2 separate regions of the Homo sapiens genome follow, and region 2 is linked to region 1. Evidence: promoter capture Hi-C in human tissues and cell types (Jung and others, 2019). All regions are on one chromosome and are shown on one strand. The core of a region is centred on a gene start or on the middle of the fragment in contact, and the rest is flanking DNA. Distances in the headings are between cores, read along the strand shown. Region 1 holds the start of DIP2B (disco interacting protein 2 homolog B). Region 2 overlaps CERS5 (ceramide synthase 5).

Region 1 (6,808 bases), core at 2,295-4,794:
TATTAGCCAGGCGTGGTGGGGCATGCCTGTAATCCCAGCTACTCGGGAGGCTGAGGCAGGAGAATTACTTGAACCTGGGAGGCAGAGGTTGCAGTGAGCCGAGATCTTGCCATTGCACTCTAGCCTGGGCAACAGGAGCGAAACTCCATCTCAAAAATAATAATAATAAAAAAGAAACCATGGAGCCCAGAAGGCAGTGGAAAGACATTCAAAATGCTAAAAAAAATTGTCAACCAACAATTCCATATCCACAAAACTATACCTCAAAAATGAAGGAGAGGCCAGGTGTGGTGGCTCATGCCTGTAATCTCAGCACTTTGAGAGGCCGAGGAGAGGATCACTTGAGCCCGAGTTTGAGACCAGCCTGGGCAACACAGTGAGACCTCATGTCTACAAAAAAGTAAAAAATCAGCCGAGTGTAGAGGCATGAATTTATAATCCCAGATACTTGGGAGGCTGAGGTGGGAGGATTACTTAAGCCCAGGAGATTGAAGTTGCAGCAAGCCAACATGGTGCCACTGCACCCCAGCCTGAGTGACAGGGCAAGACCCCGTCTCAAAAAAAAAAAAAAAAAAAAAAAAGAAAAAAAAAGAAAAAAAGAAAAATGATGGAGAATGCAGACATTCCTAGATAAACAACAACTGAATTTGTCACTTGCCCCGCAATGTGAGCCATTCAGCCTGAAATGAAAGATTATTAGACAATAGCCTGAGTTCACACGAAGAAATAAACAGCACTGGTAAAGGTGCTGGTGCGGTGGCTCACGCCTGTAATCCCAGAAGTTTGGGAGGCTGAGGCCAGTGGATCACTTGAGGTCAGGAGTTCGAGACCAGCCTGGCCAACATGGTGAAACCACATTTCTACTAAAAATACTAAAAATACAAAAATTAGCCGGGCATGGTGGCCGGTGCCTGTAATCACAGCTACTTGGGAGGCTGAGGCAGGAAAACCGCTTGAACCCGGGAGGCAGAGGTTGTAGTAAGCTGAAATTGCGCCACTGCACTCTAGCCTGGGTGACAGAGCGAGACTCTGTCTAAAAAAAAAAAAAACGGTGACACAGTATAAACATAGTATATTTTTGTTTGTTAATTTTTAAAAGTTTTTCTCCAAAAGCATGAGCCACCACACCTGGCCTCGGAGAAAAATTTAATGTTAAACTTTTAAAATAGTCACAGAAAGAATAGCAGTATAATCTGTACCTTCCAAACCAGAAGAACAAAGAAGTACTATCTAACACTTTACTAATTCAACAATAGGAGAAAAAGGGGGGGAAGAAAGCAAAGACAGAGATTGATAAACAGAAAACATTTAACAAGAATGAAGAAATAAGTCCTAATATATCAGTAATTATATTAAATGAACTTAAATGGATTTAATTAATTTGTTACAACCAGAGTCACAGACAAAAGTTGAAAATAAAAGACTAAAAAAAGTCAGCAAGTAGTAATTAAAAAGGCTGGTACAACAATAATATCTAGACAAAAAGATTAAGGTAAAGAATAAACAATTAGAAATAAAGAGAATATAAGGAATAATCTAGCAAAAAGGTAGAATAATTTGGTGGAAGAATGCAGTAAAGGCTGGATGAGGTGGCTTATGCCTGTAATCCCAGCACTTTGAGAGGCTGAGGTAGGAGGATCTCTCAAGTTTGTTCTAAGCTTCTATAATTTTAAATAAATGTTTTACTTTAGAATGGTTTTAAATTTACTGAAAAGTTGCAAAGATAGTACAGATAATTCCTGTGTATGCTTCATCCAGTTTTTCCTTTTTTTTTTTTTTTTTTTTTGAGACGGAGTTTCGCTCTTGTTGCCCAGGCTGGAATGCAGTGGTGCAATCTGGGCTTACCGCAACCTCCACTTCCCGGGTTCAAGCGATTCTCCTGTCTCAGCCTCCCGAGTAGCTGGGATTACAGGCACATGCCACCATGCCCAGCTAATTTTTGTATTTTTAGTAGACGCGGGGTTTCACCATACTGGTCAGGCTGATCTCCAACTCCTGACCTCAGGTGATCTGCCTGCCTCGGCCTCCCAAAGTGCTGGGATTACAGATGTGAGCGACCACGCCCGGCCTTGACTTTTTTTTTTTTTTTTGAAACAGTTTCACTGCGTTGCCCAGGCTGGAGCGCAGCCGCCATGTTCTCAGCTCACTGTAACCTTGGCCTCCCGGGTTCAAGCGACGTTCCTACCTCAGCTCCCCCAGGTAGCTGGGATTACAGGCATGTGCCACTACTCCCGGCTAATTTTTGTGTTTTTAGTAGAGACGGGGTTTCGCCATGTTGGCCAGGCTGGTCTCGAACTCTTGACCTCAGGTGATCCGCCCACCTTGGCCTCCCAAAGTGCTGGGATCATAGGTGTGAGCCACTGCACCTAGCCTTGGACCCTCTTCATATTAAATTAAAATTAATGTTTTTGGAACACCTATTAGGCCACAGAGTGAGGAGGATGAGTTAAAGTAAGTTCCCTCCTTGTAAGTAGTTAGAAGTATAGAAAGAAAGAAGTGGACCTGCTCTCTATTGTCTTTTTCTTTTCTTTAGACGGAGTGTTTGCTCTCTTGCCCGGGCTGGAGTGCAATGACGCGATCTCAGCTTACTGTAACCTCTGCCTCCTGGGTTCAAGTGATTCTCCTGCCTCAGCCTCTTGAGTAGCTAGGAGTACAGGCATCCGCCACCACGCCCGGCTAATTTTTGTATTTTTATTGGAGACGGGGTTTCACCATGTTGGCCAGGCTGGCCTAGTACTCTTTTTTTTTTTTTTTTGAGTCGGAGTCTCGCGCTCACGCTCAGGCTGGAGTGCAGTGGCGTGATCTTGGCTCACTGCAAGCTCCGCCTCCCGGGTTCACGCCATTCTCCTGCCTCAGCCTCCCGAGTAGCTGGGACTACAGGCGCCCGCCACCACGCCCGGCTAATTTTTTGTACTTTTAGTAGAGACGGGGTTTCACCGTGTCAGCCAGGATGGTCTCGATCTCCTGACTTCGTGATCCACCCGTCTCGGCCTCCCAAAGTGCTGGGATTACAGGCGTGAGCCACCGCGCCCGGTCGGCTAGCCTGGTACTCTTAACCTCAGGTGATCCACCAGCCTCAGCCTCCCAAAGTGCTAGGATTACAGGCGAGAGCCACCGCGCCTGTCTTTTTAAAAGCTAAAACTGAAACGGAAACAGAGCTCCTGGCAGATAGGACCAGGAGCCACAGCGAAGGAGGTGGCCTGTGATTAGGTTTTTATAAATGGGCAGGTATTAATCAGGGAAAATGGAGTAAAGGACACGATAGACATACATTGCTAAGTCTAGTATTGGAAAAAGTAAGGCCTGGGACCCCTAAAAACTTGCTCGAGAGTGAAAGGTAAATGCTATGTGTCCACACTACTGTGGTAAAGCCGACAGTCCATACCATGAGCCCATTTCGCGCAGGGAAATTCGAGTGGTGGGCTTGGGCCCGTCGTTCTGGTAGCTTCCCAGTAGAGGGCGCCGTAAGCATATGCGTCTTCAGCCTGACTGGGCTGGAGAGGCGGTGCGTCCTCCTGGCCGGGGGGCGGGGGCCGTCGCGCTCACGTGACCTTTGCTCATGGCGGCGGCGGCGGCGGCGGCGGTGCTGGTGGTGCTCGGCGGCCGGAGCCGGATCCTGTAGCCGGGTGTGGGCCCGTGTCTGTCCGTCCCTCCTTCGGCCCCCTCTCTTGTCTTCCGGAGTGTGGCTGGCGGAGCTGGGATGGCGGAACGAGGCCTGGAGCCGTCGCCGGCCGCGGTGGCGGCGCTGCCGCCTGAAGTGCGGGCGCAGCTGGCGGAGCTGGAGCTGGAGCTCTCGGAGGGTAGGAGCCGGGCCGGGGAGAGGGCGCCCGGGGCCCTGCGGATCGCGGCGACTTGGGAGACAGGTCCCCGCCGCGCGCTCTGGCGGCCGTGCGGCGAGGGGGACGAGGGTGTAGAGAACCTGGCCTGGCGCTCCACGACCGTTTTCCCTCCTCTCCCACCCCATTAAGTGGTTTCCTGTGGCTTTCATTGTTTTCCCATGGAGGGGACTAAGTAAGGGCTTGTGGAAAGGTCCTCCCGGGCCCACACTGCTTCTGCGCTTCCTGCCCCCCAAAACCCGAGACAAAGCTGCGCCCTCCCGCTTCTGCCCAGGCGTCTGGCCCAGGTGGGGTGAGGGGTAGGGCTGCGAGGAGGGTGGCTGACAGCTTTCTCCTTTCCTCTCCCCTTTTCGTGGAGGGCTCCACGCCTTGTTCCAGCCCCCCCTTCCCCCTTTCAAAAAGAGACACATGGGAAATCCGCAGCATCATTTCTTCTCTTTCCTTTAACAATGCGCGATGCCTCCCCAGTGACAGGAGTGAGACACAAGCGGGTGAGCCATTTAGGGTCCTAGGAAGATAAGAAGCAATGGCATTAACCCAGAGAGACACACGGTGCTGCTTTTAGACCACCTTTGTCATAAGAAGTTTTTTTTTTTCCTGGTGCCTGTTATTCGGGCCGAATTTTCCGCATCTGGTCACCTTTTGGAGTCTTTGATGAAGGAAGGAGAGGAGGCTACCGTTTACTTGCAAATCCTGGCTGGCATTCTTTCTTTTGACAATGGATTGGGACAGGGAGGGTTCGATTTATTTTCAGAATTAAAAAAAAAAAATGGGATAAATCAAGCCACTGTTATTAGAGAACTCCTTGTACAACAATGAGAGAAACACAGTGCTCCGTTGTGGGCATGTGATCAGGCTTCTGGGGCAGTTGTGATCAGTTCTGTGTAAAGTTCCTGTTTTTATCACTGGCTGCCCCTGAGACAAAAGCAGCATTTTCTCCAAGCTTGATACCAGTACTTTGATTGTGTCTCCAGAGTTGCATATTCTTACTGAGTTCCTTGTGGAAGGCCCTCTTCACTAGCATTTTTCAAGTGGATCAAAAACTCTTGATTGGAAAAGAAGAATGTGACCAACTCCCAGGAGCTTATTAAACATTACTTATTGTTTACTTATTAAGGCATTATGGTTCCCTCCCCTCTGAGAATCCTTTACAATGAAAAACCAAAAATAGAGTTGAATGTTATAAATCCTGTTGGGCACTGAAGGAAATAATTATTTTTAATAACCCTTTTAATAACCCAATGTGTAGGAAAGTGCTGTTTTTACCTGTACTTAACTATCAACATGTTATTTTTCAATTAATCCAATTTTCAAGTTATTCTTCGGCCAGTCCCGGGAATCACTGGTATTAGATTAGTTTGTTTCTGTGAAGTGTTTAAGAAGATAGGAATCCTCTGGGTTTGTCTGCCCAGTTATACCTTAAGTTCCCCCCGCTTCGAAAATCGAGGAGCTTTTTGCATTACCATCAATTCTGTCTCTCAAGATAACTCATTCTTCTCCTAGACTAAAGCATTGACATTAAATCTGTGTTGACTTGCATTAAAATCTGACTTTTAAAACTGCTATTTGAAAGTAACAAATCATCTAGCTTTGATTAGAGAGAGGTTTGCCTGGATGCTTGCGTCAGAGGGAGATTAAAAATAGGAGTTGATTGCTTTCACACGGAGAGGGAAATCCTGGAAGCTCCTTATTCTGGGTATATCTGCTTCCAGCTGATTGTTGTTTACATCTCTGGGTGTTTCTAGACATCTCTAGAATGTCTAGAAACATTCTGAGGAACTATTTCTAGGACCCACACTGATTAGCTCACCTCTCTCTCCTTCAGAAAGGTGTGAAACTTCTACAAATTGTGAATGCCAAGGCTTAAACATTTTAAGGACAAGTGCATGGTTTGCTTTCCAATGAAGGATTATTTTGGTTGGCATCTGACTTGGTTTGAATTTGTTTCTTATAGATATACTACACTTCTTGTATTTCATTTGTTTTAGCAATGGATGACTGGAAAAAATACAATTGAAAAACTTGGGCCTGCAGTGTCAGCATATTGGTCATCTTTCTTGCTTAAAGTACAGGGGATGGTTGGCTGGAGAAGTGGATAGACATTAGGAATTCAAGTGAAGTTAAAATAATCCAAAAGTCCCCATATCTGTGTAGTATGGTGTTATTTGTGATGCCTGTAGCATATTTGGAGCTAAGGTTTGTTCGTTTTGCATTTTCTCTACAGTTACTCTGCTCTAACATAAGTACTTTGTCTTTTTTTGTTTTAGATGCTTTTCTTTCGTTTGTTTTTTTTGAGATGGAGTCTCACACTGTTGCCCGATTTTAGCTTACCGCAACCTCCGCCTCCCAGGGTCAAGCAGTTCTCCTGCCTCAGCCTCCCCAGTAGCTGGGATTACAGGCAAGCGCCACTACTGCCGGGCTAATTTTTTTTGTATTTATAGTAGAGACCGGGTTTCACCGTGTTGGCCAGGCTGATCTTAAACTCCTGACCTCAAATGATCCACCAACCTCAGCCTCCCAAAGTGTTAGGATTACAGGCGTGAGCCACCGCTAAAGATGCTTTTAACTGTGTGTTTATCATGCCTTGCTGACATTGGTGCACTCATTTCTCTATTTTCATTTTTTCTTTCTTTCTCTCTTTTTTTTTTTAAGGTTCAGCCTGTCATTGGTCCTAATCATAGCAATAATCTGAGCTGTATGCTGTTAAAGAATTTTCTTTGTGCTTGCCTGTATTTTCAGCTGCAGGCTTTGGTAATAGATCAGCCAACTCTGTGCTGAAATGCAGGTTTGTGCCTGCTTTGGGCTCTTTGCTGCAGAGCGTGTTGCAGAGCCCTGTGATGTGTCTGGTGCTTCAGGCAGGTCACCAGGCAGCTTCCTGGTTAAAACCTGCTTCTGTCACAAAAAGAACAGGCTGAAACTGCCTGGAAATCATTTAAAAACTGAATTTCCACATAAGGATGAGCTTTTCTATA
Region 2 (6,808 bases), core at 1,856-4,355, 350 kb before region 1:
AGCACTTCTGATGCATACCAAAGTATATGGCTCCCAAGGAAAACCATTTGTATGACTACTGCAAGCTGAATAAACTAAGTCGCTTTTTCCATAGAATACCACTTTTACCTGAAAGGACTGACAGACTAACGTTAGTCAGCTCTGAGTATTTAGCAAAAACTTTCTCAAAAATAAATGAGGCCAGACGCAGTGGCTCATGCCTGTAATCCCAGCACTTTGGGAGGCGGAGGCGGGCGGATCACCTGAGGTCAGGAGTTTGAGACCAGCCTGGCCAACACAGTAAAACCCCATCTCTACTAAAAATATAAATATTAGCCAGGCGTGGTGGCGGCCGCCTGTAATCCCAGCTACTCGGGAGGCTGAGGCAGGAGAATTGCTTGAACCCAGAAGGCAGAGGTTGTAGTGAGCTGAGATCCTGCCACTGCACTCCAGCCTGGGCGACAGAGCAAGACTTTGTCTCAAAATAATAATAATAATAGTAATAACTATAATAAGTGAGCCCGTCATTTCAAGAAAAGCATTGTTGCCAATGATAAAATTCAAGCTTTCAAGTGAAACTTAGAATGTTTAGAAAACTTTTACCTGCCTTTCAGCCTGACAACTTCTCAATACTTAAGACTTTTCTGATGAGATTGGTTATAATGAGATAAACTAATATGATTTTTTTTTTTTTTTTTTTTTTTTTTTCTGAGACGGAGTCTCACTCTGTTGCCAGGCTGGAGTCCCGTGGCATGATCTTGGCTCACTGCAACCTCTGCCTCCTGGGTTCAAGCGATTCTCCTGCCTCAGCCTCCCGAGTAGCTGGGACTAGAGGCATGCACCACCACGTCCAGCTAATTTTTGTATTTTTAGTAGAGACGGGGTTTCACCATGTTGGCCAGGATGCTCTCAATCTCTTGACCTTGTGATGCGCCCACCTCGGCCTCCCAAAGTGCTGGGATTACAGGCAAGATTTTAAAATATTGTATAATGTCACATATTGACATGTGGGACATTTGCATAACTGAATGAACCAGTATTTTCCAAATGATGGATACATGATGTCCATTCAAACTGTAATATAGGCCAGGCATGGTGGCTCACGCCTATAATCCCAGCACTTTGGGAGGCTGAGGCAGGCGGATCACCTGAGGTCAGGAGTTTGAGACCAGCCTGGCCAATATGGTGAAACCCCATCTCCACTAAAAATACAAAATTAACTGGGCGTGATGGCGCATACCCATAATCCCAGCTACTTGGAAGGCTGAGGCAGGAGAATCATTTGAACCTGGGAGGCAGAGGTTGCAGTGAGCTGTGACTGCACCATTGGACTCCAGCCTGGGCGACAAGAGCAAAACACCACCTCAAAACAACAACAACAAAACACAATGAACATAGAACAATGGATTTTAACATAATAAAATGAAAAGCTCATTAATATGGCTTCAGATTCTACCTAGGAATCAACGTTTAAGAAACTGCTACTTGTGGCTGGGCGTGGCACGCCTGTAATCCCAGCACTTTGGGAGGCCGAGGCAGGCAGATCACGAGGTCAAGAGATCTAGACCATCCTGGCCAACATGGTGAAACCCCATCTCTACTAAAAATGCAAAACTTAGCTGGGTGCGGTGGCACATGCCTGTAATCCTAGCTACTCGGGAGGCTGAGGCAGGAGAATCGCTTGAACCAGGGAGTCGAAGGTTGCAGTGAGATCGCGCCACTACACTCCAGCCTGGGAACAGAGCAAGACTCCGTCTCAAAACAAGACAAAACAAAACAAAAAACTGCTACTTGTGTTTTGGTGTAGTATCAAAGATAAATATCAAATTATTTGAAAGGGCTATTAAAATACTTCCTGCTTTTCAATGACAAAGCTGTGTGAGGCCATCTTTTCTTCATATACTTCAATCAAAACAATGTATCACAAGAGATTGAATGCAGAAGCTGCTAGGATAATCCAGCTGTCTTCTATTAAGCCAGATATTAAAGAGATTTGCAAAAATGTAAAATCAATGCTGTTCTTCTATTTTTTCTTTTGGAAAATAATATTTTTCAAAAAGCTTATTTATGTTAACATGTAAATCAATTTATTATTATTTTTTGTCTATTTTCTCCCTTTTTGTGGAGAACGAGGTCTTGCTATGTTACCCACACAGGTCTTGAGCTCCTGAGCTCAAGCTATCCTCCTGTCTCTGCCTCCCTAAGTGCTGGGATTACAAGTGTGAACCCCTGCACCTGGCCTGTTGTTATTTTTAATGAATTAATAAGCATTTCTTAAATTTCTTTTTGAGACAGAGTTTCGCTCCGTCACCCAGGCTGGAGTGCAGTGGCGCTATCTTGGCTCACTGCAACCTCTGCTCTCAGGTTCAAGTGATTCTCCTGCCTCAGCTGCCCAAGTAGCTGGGACTATAGGCGTGCACCACCATGCCTGGTTAATTTTTGCATTTTTAGTAGAGACGGGGTTTCACCGTGTTGGCCAGGCTGGTCTTGAACTCCTGACCTCAGGTGATCCACCCACCTAGGCCTCCCAAAGTGCTGGGATTATAGGGGTGAGCCATCGTGCCCGGTCAGCATTTCTTAAATTTCTCAATTTTAATTTAAAATATGGTAAAGTTGATGGGTATATGTAACCCACATAAACAAAAGCTCCTTGGAGTCCTCAGTAATTTTTAAAAGTGAAAAACAATCCCTGAGAACAAAAAGTTACAATGTATTCTTCTGAGTAAATTCTTAAAAGAAGAGGATTCCTTGTATACAAGGTATTGCACTTTTCAAGATACCTATACCACCAAACCCAACATTTCTTGCATGGTCTGTGCTCAAGTGATCTTTGCAGCTTCCTTTGAGGGCCATTAAAAAAAAAAATTGCCAGGCACGGTGACTCAGGCCTGTAATCCCAGCACTTTGGGAGGCTGAGGCAGGTGGATCACGAGGTCAAGAGATCGAGACCATCCTGGCTAACAGGGTGAAACCCCATTTCTACTAAAAATACAAAAAAATTAGCCAGGCGTGGTGGCAGGCGCCTGTAGTCACAGCTACTCGGGAGGCTGAGGCAGGAGAATGGCGTGAACCCGGGAGGCAGAGCTTGCAGTGAGCCGAGATTGCGCCACTGCACTCCAGCCTGGGCGACAGAGCGAGACTCCATCTCAAAAAAAAAAAAAAAAAAAAAAAAAAGGCCCAGCCTGGGTAACATGATGAAATCTTGTCTCTACAAAAAATATAACAATTAGTGGCCGGGCATGGTGGCTCACGCCTGTAATCCCCAGCACTTTGGGAGGCCAAGGCGGGTGGATCACCTGTGGTCAGGAGTTTGAGACCAGCCTGACCAATATGGTGAAACCCCGTCTCTACTAAAAATACAAAAATTAGCTGGGTGTGGTGGCACACCTGCAGTCCCAGCTACTCGGAGGCTGAGGCAGGAGAACTGCTTAAACCTGGGAAGCAGAGGTTGCAGTGAGCTGAGATCGCGCCACTGCACTCCAGCCTGGGCGACAGAGCGACATTCTGTCTCAAAAAAAAAAAAAAAAAAAAGGCCGGCCGTGGTGGCTCACGCCTGTAATCCCAGCACTTTGGGAGGCTGAGGCGGGTGGATCACAAGGTCAGGAGATCGAGACCATCCTGACTAACACGGTAAAACCCCGTCTCTACTAAAAATACAAAAAAAAATTAGCCGGGTGTGGCAGCGTGCGCCTGTAGTCCCAGCTGCTGGGGAGGCCAAGGCAGGAGAATGGCGTGAACCTGGGAGGCAGAGCTTGCAGTGAGCCAACATCACGCCACTGCACTCCAGCCTGGGTGACAGAGCAAGACTCTGTCTCAAAACAAACAAACAAACTATATATATATATATATAAAACAATTAGTAGCCAGGTGTGGTGGCATGCACCTCTGGTCCCAGCTACTGGGAGGCTGAGGTGGGAGGATTGTTTGAGCCAAGAGGTGGAGGCTGTAGTGAGTCATGATCATGCCATTGCATTCCAGCGTGGCTGACAGAGTGAAGCTTAATACATACTTAAAAAATTTATCAGTATTAGTTTTTAATAGAGAAAATATTGATAGATATAACTCATATAAACAAAAGCTATTTGGGGTCTTCAATAATTTTTTAAAATATAAAGGAGTCCTGAGCAAAAGATTTGAGAACCCACTGCTGTACAGCATAGGAATCTCAGGAGTCAAAAAGGAAATTATGTAGCTGGGCCTGTAGTTCCAGCTACCATGGAGGCTGAGGCAGGTGGACTGATTGAGGCCAGGAGGTCAAGGCTGTAGTGACATCAGCCCTGTGAATGGCCACTGAATTCCAGCCTGGGTAATTGTGATGGTTAATACTGAGTATCAACTTAATTGGATTGAAGAATGCAAAACACTCATCCTGCACATGTCTGTGAGGGTGTTGCCAAAGGAGATTAACATTTGAGTCAGTGGGCTGGGAAAGGCAGAGCCACCCTTAATCTGGGTGGGCACCATCTAATCAGCTGCCAGCATGGCAAGAGGCAGAAAAACGTGAAAAGACTAGACTGGCCTAGCCTCCCAGCCTACATCTTTCTCTTGTGCTGGACTCTTCCTCCCCTCAAACATCGGACTCCAAGCTCTTCAGTTTTGGGACTTGGACTGGCTTTCCTTGCTCCTCAGTGTGCAGACGGCCTATTGTGGGACCTTGTGATAGTGTGAGTTAATACTTAATAAACTACCCTTCATATATATATCCATCCTATTAGTTCTGTCCCTCTAGAGAACCCTGACTGATACAGTAATATAGCAAGATTCCGTCTCTTAGGAAGGAAAATTAGAAAAAAAAACAGTAATTACTGTACTAGAGTCGCAACATCTCAAGCAGAAGTAGGTTTCAGAGTGATTCATTCAATAAACACTTACTGAATAGCTAATATGAATGTACAAAGCACTGCATTAGATACCTACAGTTTCATGGGGGAGACAAGTCCATAAACAGAGCCCAATCTGAAGGTCATTCCCCAAAAATAAGGCAGTTCATTCAAGATCTCTGAAATGGTTCTCTTCAAATTCCAGCTGTGACCTGACAAACATTTCTGACATTATTCACTTTACCTAGATCCTTGACTTCATTAAAGGCATACAACGGAGAATATTAGATGAGGAAAAAAGAAATTGTCCAAAAAAAAAGAGATCAAACCTGAAACAATAATTGACACTATCTAGACAGAAGCAAAATAATCTACTGTAGGCCAGGCATGGTGATTCATGCCAGTAATCTCAGCACTTTGGAAGGCCGAGGTGGAAGCATCACTTGAGCTCAGGAGTTCAAGACCAGCCATGGCAAAACCTCATCCCTACAAAAAATACAAAAATTAGCCAGGCACAGTGGCACATGCCTGTAGTCCCAGCTTCTTGGGAGGCTGAGGTGGCAAGATGGCTTGAGCCAGGGAGGTGGAAGTTGCAGTGATACCAGATTGTGCCACTGCACTCCAACTTAGGTGACAGAGTGAGACCATGACCAAAAAAAAAAAAAAAAAAAAAAAATCTGTAATAGATGTTTTTCTCAAGGAATGCATGTAGATTGTATATTTTTGTAAATCCAATCATTCTAATGTACTAGAAGAATTCTACTGAGAGGACACTAAAGTGAATTCAGGCCAAAGTGGTAGGATAAACCCACTTGTTCCTTTCATTAAACATATTTACCTTTTTTCAATGGATAATTATACAACTTAATGCATTTGCTTAAAATAGAAACACAAACACACATAAGGGATAACCACTGATTTTGTTGCTCTCTCCAGGGTAGAAATCATGGTTTATTCACCTTTTAATCCTTGGCACATAGTTTGATACCTTTTTATTTATTTTTACATTTTTCTTGTCCAACTTCTAAAACCATCACATATAGTTTGATATGACATATCCTAAGCTTTCAATAAATAGATGTTGAAGAATGAACAGATGAACAAATGGGTGAAAACTTAATTCTCAACTAAGAGGCAAAGTGTTTCATGGAAGTGTGCCACTTGTAAGGATGAAATTAAAACTCAGCCTTATCCTCCTGGGTCATCAGATAACCTACCAGTTTGGTGTTTATCAAGTGTAGGAGATGACTGATTTCTGGGGAATCAGTAGATATTCAAGTTAACCGATTTCAATCTATAACTGGAGATTGCCCTAAACACAACCACAACAATCTGATCTAGTTTGAGACACTTTATGCCTGTAATTGCGACTGCTTACTAATGCTGACAATACCCAAAAACTAAAAACTACAAGGAATATCCTTACAAGAAATCTTGTATTTTACAGAAGAGATATAGTAAGAGTGTGATTATTCTCAATGCCTTATCAGAGCTATGCAGTTCTGCATGGACATTTACCTACTTGACAAACTTTCTTATAGATCATTAACACCGAGAAGATAGATGTAAAAAGGCAAAATTATAGAGCAATGCTTGGCTAGAAGCAACTGTCAATCAAAGATTACTCAAGCGGCCGGGCGCGGTGGCTCACACCTGTAATCCCAGCACTTTGAGAGGCCGAGGCGGGCGAATCATGAGGTCAGGAGATAGAGACCATCCTGGCTAACACGGTGAAACCCCATCTCTATTAAAAATACAAAAAATTAGCCGGGTGTGGTGGCGGGCGCCTGTAATCCCAGCTACTCAGGAGGCTGAGGCAGGAGAATGGTGTGAACCCGGGAGGCAGAGCTTGCAGTGAGCCGAGATCCCGCCACTGCACTACAGCCTGGGCGACACAGGGCGAGACTCTGTCTCAAAAAAACAAAAAATTACTCAAAATAGAATATGACCAGTCATTTGAATATTTCAGAAAATAATTTACATTTAGAAATCTTATTTTTACTAAAATG

What was found. The method cuts DNA at HindIII sites, captures the fragments that hold promoters and counts their contacts. A contact is called where the count stands out against the background at its distance.
Region 2: a fragment that was not itself captured here is called in contact with the fragment with the promoter of DIP2B in region 1 in 1 of the 25 tissues and cell types used here (hippocampus).

Annotation. Positions count from the first base shown.
Region 1 is chr12:50,501,441-50,508,248 of GRCh38, forward strand. It overlaps DIP2B (disco interacting protein 2 homolog B), which reads left to right and starts at 3,545. Exons shown (of 38, transcript NM_173602.3): 1 at 3,545-3,800. The coding sequence starts at 3,701. RefSeq lists a silencer at 3,848-3,957. The HindIII fragment of the contact is 9,488 bases long and covers 1-6,808 here.
Region 2 is chr12:50,152,610-50,159,417 of GRCh38, forward strand. All of the region lies in intron 1 of CERS5 (ceramide synthase 5), which reads right to left. All of the region lies in intron 1 of LOC124902931 (a long non-coding RNA gene), which reads left to right. Among named protein-coding and RNA genes, the nearest start is that of CERS5, 11 kb to the right of the region's middle. The HindIII fragment of the contact is 3,628 bases long and covers 1,292-4,919 here.